2 separate regions of the Homo sapiens genome follow, and region 1 is linked to region 2. The links are contacts of gene promoters, found by promoter capture Hi-C in human tissues and cell types (Jung and others, 2019). All regions are on one chromosome and are shown on one strand. Each heading gives the region's core, a stretch centred on a gene start or on the middle of the fragment in contact. The rest is flanking DNA. Distances are from core to core; before and after follow the strand shown. Region 1 overlaps SPECC1L (sperm antigen with calponin homology and coiled-coil domains 1 like). Region 2 holds the start of PIWIL3 (piwi like RNA-mediated gene silencing 3).

Region 1 (4,201 bases), core at 1,139-3,638, 370 kb before region 2:
CGATGTGCCCACAGTCCTACAGGCAGTACAAAGTGCCACCAACAATCAAAGTGCAGATCCATGGGACTCTGAAACCTAGGATACTTTGGCCACACCACTCTGCTTTTCCAGTGATCTACAGAGACATGGCTTTCAAATCAGTATAAAGAATTTCCAAGGACTTATAATGGAGGAGGAGTCAGCCTTGAAGCTTCTTCCTGTAACCACAAGGTTCTAGCATAAACTAAAGAGGCCTTTCTCAGAGAAGGCTTCTGAACAGTGTTTCTGTGTAAGTCATGGCTGGTGACACCACTCAGATTCCACCACATTCATCTCTCTGAGCCTGAAGACACAATTGGTGACATTTGTCCTGAGGGTAAATTAAAGAAGGCCCCCCTGGATGTTTTGGAAGGCCTAATTAGTTTCTCCTCAAACAATCCAGTTCCCCTAAAGAGGCCAGGAAAGCTTTTGGGGGTTAGGATGAGGACACGATTCTGCACCGTTACCTCCCTTCCTCCCTCACCCAGTCCCTTCCTCAGAGCATGCACCAGGGCAGATCTTGCTTGAGGATTTCCACGAGGGTCTTTTTCAGTTGAGATTGCATTTTAGTGAGTAATATCCCCTGCCAAAGCTAAACTAAATCTGTGGGAAAAGACAGTAATCATTCCTAAGCTGCTAATAAAACTGCTCACAACATGCTCAGAGTTCATCAGTTAGCTGTGACCCAGCCAGTGGCTCTTGCCTGACACCCATCTCTGCCTGGTGGCAGTTTCCTGAGTTATCAGAAAGCAGACATCATGATTCCTGTGTGCTTCTCCATGAAACGTCTCCCTCTGGAGGGGTTTATGGGGACATTAATCCCTAGCTCTTAGGGTGACATTGGCTGACCAATTATTTTATTCTGAACTGTCCCCTCAAAATAGGTTCATTTGACTAAAAAAAGTTAAAGCGCCGGGCATGGTGGCTCACGCCTGTAATCCCAGCACTTTGGGAGGCCGAGGCGGGTGGATCACGAGGTCAGGAGATCGAGACCATCCTGGCTAACATGGTGAAACTCCATCTTTACTAAAAATACAAAAAATTAGCTGGGCGTGGTGGCGGGCGCTTGTAGTCCCAGCTGCTCAGGAGGCTGAGGCAGGAGAATGGTGTGAACCTGGGAGGCGGAGCTTGTGGTGAGCTGAGATCCGCGCCACTGCACTCCAGCCTGGGCGACAAAGCGAGACTCCATTTCAAAAAAAACAAAAAAAAAAGTTAAAGCATATTAAATCCAAAACATACTATAGATTTTGTTTTTGTGAAGCTTCAATATAGTTGAAGCTATATCTGAGAAGTATGCTTGCTACTTTGAGCATATGGGGCAACGTAGTTGTGGTTAAATATGGCTGCTTCTCCCACAGAATCAGGGATGGCTTCCCTTTCTTGGGAATAGCCATTTACAGAGGATGACATATATCAGGTTCCTTTTGCCATACCAGAGGTACTCAGTTTCAAGCTGACTGATACCCTGCCTCCTACCCTTAGCTGCCTGTTTATTTTTAAGAAATATATCTATTTTTACATTTTTAAAGCAGAGCTGTAATAAATTCTCATAGAATCCATGCTCATGCATCATCTGAGTTTTAATGTAACTTCTCAGTAAACACTCCAGGATAATTTAGTTGTTTATGAGATCCACCTAGTGTATAGAGTTACTGGGCATAAACTGTACTTCAGAACATCTGGCAGCCTCTTTTATTTGAGTAAAACATATGTAACAAAAATTTACCATTTGATCATTTTTAAACATACAATTCGGTAGCATTAAGTGCATTTGCAATGTGTATTCATCACCACTACCTAGTTCCAAAACTAGATCACCCCAAGTGGAAACCACCTACCCATTCATCAGTCAGCTCCTTCTCCTCCCTAGCACTTGGCAACCACTCGTCTACTTTCTGTCTCTGGATTTGACTATGGATATTTCATATAAATAGAATCATACAGTATGTAGCCTTTTGTGTCTAACTTTCACTTACCATAATGTTTCAATACTTACTCATATTGTGGCGTATATTCGTACTTTGTTCCTTTTCATGGCCAAAAAATAATCCATTGTATGGATAGACCATATTTTGTTTATTCATTTGTCAATTGGTGGGCATTTGGGTTGTTTCCACCTTTTGGCTTTTTTGAATAGTGCTGCTGGGAACGTTCCTGTACAGGTATTTGTTTGAACATCTGCTTTCAGTTCTTTGAAGTATAGACAAGGAGTGGGATTGCTGGGCCGTATATTAACTCTGTGTTTAACTTACTGAGGAACTGCCAAACTCTTCCTCAGCAGCGGCATCATTTGCCGTTCCCACCAGCAGTGTCCAAGGATTCCAGTATCTGCATCCTCACCATGTTTTTCTTTTCTTTTAAATAATAGCCATCCTAATGGCTGTGAAGTGTCATCTTCTTGTGGTTTTGATTTGCATTTCCTTAGTGACTAACCGTGTTGAGCCTTCTCATGTGCTTGTTGGCTATTTGTATATCTTTGGGGAAATGTTCTATTTACGTCCTTTGCTCATTTTTATGTTTGGGCAACTGGGTTGTCTTTCTGTTGTTGATCAAGTTCATGTTTGTTTGTTCTTAATGGAAATTTTCAAATATGCACTAAAGTCATGAGAATGGTAAAACAACCCTCCTGTACATAGCCCTAGCGACAAGATATCAGCATAGGGCACTGTCCCCACGCCCACCTGGAGGATTCGGAAGCAAACACCAGCCACTTAATGTCACCACACACTTAGAGCTCACTCCTCCCATTGTGTCATAATCAGTTTGCTTGAATTAAGATCCAAATAGGGTTCTCACATTGTGTTTGGAAGTATGTCTCTTTTAGGTCTCTTTCAGTTCATAAATCTTTTTTTCTTTCAGTTTCTTTTTGAAGGAACGGGATTGATTGTGCATCCTACAGAGTGACCCACAGTTCAGATTCTGTTGGTTCCTTCCCCATCCTGTTGTCCGTGGTGTAAACTGGTAGGCAGAGCTGGAGGGTGGATCTGATTCCAGTTCATGTTTTTGGCAGAAACATCTCAGCTGTGGAGTTCTGTCCATTCGCAGCAGGACTGGCTGCCTCTTTCTGTGATGTCACTGCCTCTGATAACGAGGTCAGTCATTCTGGGTAATTCTGTCACTCCTTCCTTCATTAGGCTTCCTCTTTACAGAGAAACCCCTTTGTCAGCTGTTCAGCTGCCTTGACTATGGTTTGGTCTGGAAAGTTCTATCAGGTGCTTGTTCCTCTCCCTTGATTTTCCAGCACTCAGGTTCACGAGTGGTTTCCAAGCCAGGCTGGGTGTGCCTTTGTAGATATCACCATAAACTCACCGATGTCACATTTTAGATGTACCACCCCATTGTACTTAACACCTAACTTCAGTTTTTCAAATGGTGAGCCTTCCTGTTGGCTGTGGATTCAGATCACCTGGGTACCTTTAAAGAACATTATGCCCTGACTCGTTCACACCACGTGAATGAATGTCTCTGGGGTGGGGCAAGCGTAGGAAAACCCGAAAAATCTTTGCAGTGATTCTAGCGCACAGTGAGGATTGAGGGTCCGTATTAGATCAAGAGCAAAGACATGCAGGGCTTATCTCCAGAGGCTGCCAGCTCCACCTCGGCCGCCTGCCCTACCTCGGCCGCCTGCCCTGCCTCCTTCTTGCTCCCTCTTTACCATGTAAGTACCAACACCTGGGCTCCATGATGAGCCAGGCAAGACTCTCCCTGAAAATGTACTGCTTCCCCTTCCTTCCCCTTCCTTCCCCTTCCTTCCCCTTCCTTCCCCTTCCCTCCCCTTCCCTTCTCTCCCCTCCCCTGACCTGGAGCAGAGATTGGCCCTGCTTCAGGGAGGAGATAAGCACTGTAGTCCCCAGGGCAGCACCCTTAGATCAGCAGCTAGAGGGCCTGGCCAGGTTACCCCACAGGCACCACCGGCCCCAGGCAGGTGCCCATTCATCACTCCCAGGGCATTCTGTGTTTAACAGCCACTACCCAGAGATATCAATCAACAGTCTCGATGGTTTTTTTACTCTCTTTCAGACATTATATCTTCTCCCACCATACTACACAGAAAAGGAACCTCACTCACCTCACTCAGGCTCCCAAACTCTGCCACAGTATAGGGGGGCATCGTGAGCCAGGGTTTTGTTAGTAACTCACTCTTACCTCATGAGGCTGGGCTGTGATCCCCAGCAGGTTTCAT
Region 2 (3,712 bases), core at 284-2,783:
TTTCTGGCTCTGCCATCTCTGCTGTGATGCTCCATTCCAACCATGTGGCTCAGCAGGGAGGGCATTACACACTGTCCCTTCCCCCTTTTCCATACTCCTGCCTTCCTGCATGCCCTGCACAGGAACCCTCTTCCCTTCTCCTTTTGCCAAAAGAATTCAGAAGATACCAACTTTCTCCTCTTTTCCTGTCTGCAGTGGAGGTCCCGGCAGGACCCCCTCCTGAGCTGTGAGGGTTAAATGGGAGAAGGTGTATTGAGCTTGAAGCACTGGCAGGTCCCACAACGAATGCTCAAAAAATGGAAGCCTCTGCCACCATCTGCATCATCCCCATCAACCACAGGAGCAAAGAGCCCGCCTTTTCTGAGAAGAGCATTTACATATTGATAGAAATTCCGCGGTTTTATTTATCATCACGTCAGTTTTAAGGATGTAAGTAGGTACACATATACATATGTATCTAAAATATATTAAGTTTTTAAAAGTAGGTTATTAAAGGATATGTACAAGACACTCTAGATTTTTTTTTTTTTTTTTTTTTTTTGAGATGGGAGTCTCACTCACTCTGTTGCCCAGGCTGGAGTACAGTGGTGCGATCTTGGCTCACTGCAACCTCCGCCTCCCAGGTTCAAGCAATCCTCCTGCCTCAGCCTCCCAAGTAGCTGGGACTACAGGCACCCGCCACTGCGCCCAGTTAATTTTGGTATTTTTCGTAGAGACGGGGTTTCACCATCTTGGCCAGGCTGGTCTTGAACTCCTGACCTCATGGTCCAGCCGCCTCAGCCTCCCAAAGTGCTGGGATTACAGGCATGAGCCACTGTGGCTGACCAAGATGCTCTAGATTTTTAAAATAAATATACATACTCCACATGCTCAAATATAAGCTGAATCTGTAACCCAGCAGCTTAGCAGCCTAACCTCAAACCGCATTTTAAAACTTTTTTTCCTTTCCCCTTTCCTCTCTTCTGCTAATCTGAAGATGTAACTTAGACAAAGTATAGACGTGTTTCCTCTCCTCTTGAAATCCAGCCTTGGAATGTGCTGTGAACCTCCACCCCCTTTCTTTTCCTGTTCTATGCCCCCATGCCTTATGCACATTTATTTACCTAGTTGTTTGGTAAGCACACACCATACTCACTTATCTGGTCACATATTTCCTTAGAAGCTTCAGTAGTCAGATCCTGATACGAACCATGCACCTCCTCCAGCCATGATGACGCCGGCCACTTCCACAGATGGAAAAATAATTCAGGACAAGCCACTGGAGGGGGTCACACCACCTGACACCTCCCAGTCCCCCTGCCTCTTTTGCCTTCCAAATCCTCCCTTTAAAAACCGCTTTGGCCGGGCGCGGTGGCTCACGCCTGTAATCCCAGCACTTTGGCAGGCTGAGGCGGGTAGATCATGAGGTCAGGAGATGGAGACCATCCTGGCTAACACAGTGAAACCCTATCTCTACTAAAAATACAAAAAATTAGCCGGGCGTGGTGGCGGGCACCTGTAGTCCCAGCTACTCGGGAGGCTGAGGCAGCAAAATGGCGTGAACCCGGGAGGCGGAGCTTGCAGTGAGCCGAGATCACGCCACTGCACTCCAGCCCGGGTGAAAGAGTGAGACTCTGTCTCAAAAAATAAACAAATAAATAAATATCTTAAAAAATAAAATAAAATAAATAAAAACCCCTGCGTTCATCCGAGCGCAGTGGCTCACGTCTGTAATCGCAGCACTTTGGGAGGTCAAGGCCGGAGGATCACGAGGTCAGGAGATGGAGACCATCCTGACTAACGCGGGGAAACCCCGTCTCTACTAAAAATACAAAAAATCAGCTGGGCATGGTGGCATGTGCCTGTAGTCCCAGCAACTCGGGAGGCTGAGGCAGGAGAATCGCTTGAACTCAGAAGGCGGAGGTTGCAGTGAGCTGAGATTGCGCCACTGCACTCCAGCCAGATTGGGCGACAGAGCAAGACACCGTCGCAAAAAACAAACAAAAAAAACCCCTGCGTTCTTTCCTCACGTGGAAGAGTGGAATTGCTCTCTGCTCTTGCCCTTGCTAGCATAGATTATAAAATTCTTTCTTTTTAAATCACATGTCATTATCATTTTGACTTCTTTCTACAAGCAGTGAGCAGCTGGGCCCTTTTGCTGGTTACAACATGAGTGACTGGGGCAAATACATCAATCAAGGTTTATCAAGCCAGATTTAGGTTGTTTCTGGGAAAAACACGAGCCAAACATGCACCTGTGGCTATTTTTCTGAAAAGGTTTTTCAGGAGATTTCCTATTTTTTTTAAGAAACTTTATTTTATTTTATTTTATTTATATCTCTATGTATTTATTGAGATGGAGTCTCGTTCTGTCGTCCAGGCTAGAGTGCAGTGATGTGATCTCTGCTCACTGCAGCCTTCGCCTCCCGGGTTCAGGCGATTCTCCTGACTCAGCCTCCTGAGTAGCTGGGATTACAGGTGCATGCCACCACACCAGGCTAATTTTTGTATTTTCAGTAGAGACGGGGTTTCATGATATTGGCCAGGCTGATCTCAAACTTCTGACCTCAAGTGATCCACCCACCTTGGGATTACAGGCGTGAGCCACCATGCCCAGTCGGGGATCAGAGTTTTTAAAAATGATTTGGTGGGTATGGGCTCAGGAAGTAGGGAGTGCTTATTGGTCGGGTTGGAGATGGAATCATGGGGGTGGAAGTGAGTTCTTGCTGATTTCTCTTCCTGGATGAGATCGCAGGACTGGTTGAGCCAGATTATCAGTCTGGGTGGTGTCATCTGCTGCATCGGAATTCAGGGTATGCAAAATATCTCAAGCACTGATCTTAAGTTTTGCAACGGAGATTTTATTCCCAGAAGCAACTTGGGGAGGTTCAGACTCTTGCGGCCAGAAGCTGCATGGCCCCTAAGCCGTAATCTCTCATCTTGTAGCTAATTTGTTAGTCCTACAAAGGCAGGACAGTTCCCCACGCAAGAAGCGTCTTTTTTTCAGGAAAGGACTATTATCAGTTTTGTTTCAGAATTTAAACTATAAACAATTCTTCCCCAAGACTAGTTTGGCCTATGCCCAGGAATGAACAAAGACAGCTTAGGCGTTAGAAGCAAGGTGTGGTCGGTTAGGTCTGATCTGTTTCACTGTCATAATTTTCTCAGTTATGAGTTTTGCAAAGGCCCTTTCAATGGGGTGACTATAGTAAGTTAATTTTCCTCCTCTTTCTTCTGGTTTACCCAAGGGCATGTGGAGTCATAGAACTGTCCAGCAGGCACTGAAAGTAAAAAGTCTGTGATAAACCACCTAAATTTCTAGCTAGGCTAGTGGGAAAGGGGTCTCCTGCACATCAAGGAGTAAGGGGATCATCCTTGGTTTGTTTTGTTTTTATCTCCCCAGTTGCAAAGCTGTCCTGCAGCCTCAGCAATGGCAGAGGGACCTAAAGCCCTGAGAAATCACTTGGCTCACTGGGCAGAGGAAAAGGAAAGAGACTTCTGCATCTGAAAAGTATAGGGGAAATCTCTTTTTGTTTCTTCCTGTACTTCACTTGAAAGGCTGACCTAGACGCGTGTAACTGCACAGCAGCACGGGTGCTGCAACACTGATAGGAGCATGAAAACGGAACCCTGCAGAATCCTGCAGAGGAGAAAGCTAAAGGGGATCACTTAAATGGATGTATGAATTAACATAAGTCCTAGGATCACCCTGAACTATGCATGCACAGAAGCA

Evidence for each region. The method cuts DNA at HindIII sites, captures the fragments that hold promoters and counts their contacts. A contact is called where the count stands out against the background at its distance.
Region 1: a fragment that was not itself captured here is called in contact with the fragment with the promoter of PIWIL3 in region 2 in 2 of the 25 tissues and cell types used here (dorsolateral prefrontal cortex and thymus).

What each region holds. Positions count from the first base shown.
Region 1 is chr22:24,398,361-24,402,561 of GRCh38, forward strand. All of the region lies in intron 14 of SPECC1L (sperm antigen with calponin homology and coiled-coil domains 1 like), which reads left to right. The region is part of intron 15 of SPECC1L-ADORA2A (SPECC1L-ADORA2A readthrough (NMD candidate)); the gene reads left to right. It overlaps LOC105372960 (a long non-coding RNA gene), which reads right to left. Exons shown (of 2, transcript XR_938082.3): 1 at 4,165-4,201. Among named protein-coding and RNA genes, the nearest start is that of ADORA2A, 27 kb to the right of the region's middle. RefSeq lists an enhancer at 3,077-3,136. The HindIII fragment of the contact is 4,142 bases long and covers 318-4,201 here.
Region 2 is chr22:24,773,187-24,776,898 of GRCh38, forward strand. It overlaps PIWIL3 (piwi like RNA-mediated gene silencing 3), which reads right to left and starts at 1,534. Exons shown (of 21, transcript NM_001255975.1): 1 at 1,136-1,534. The HindIII fragment of the contact is 9,839 bases long and covers 1-3,712 here.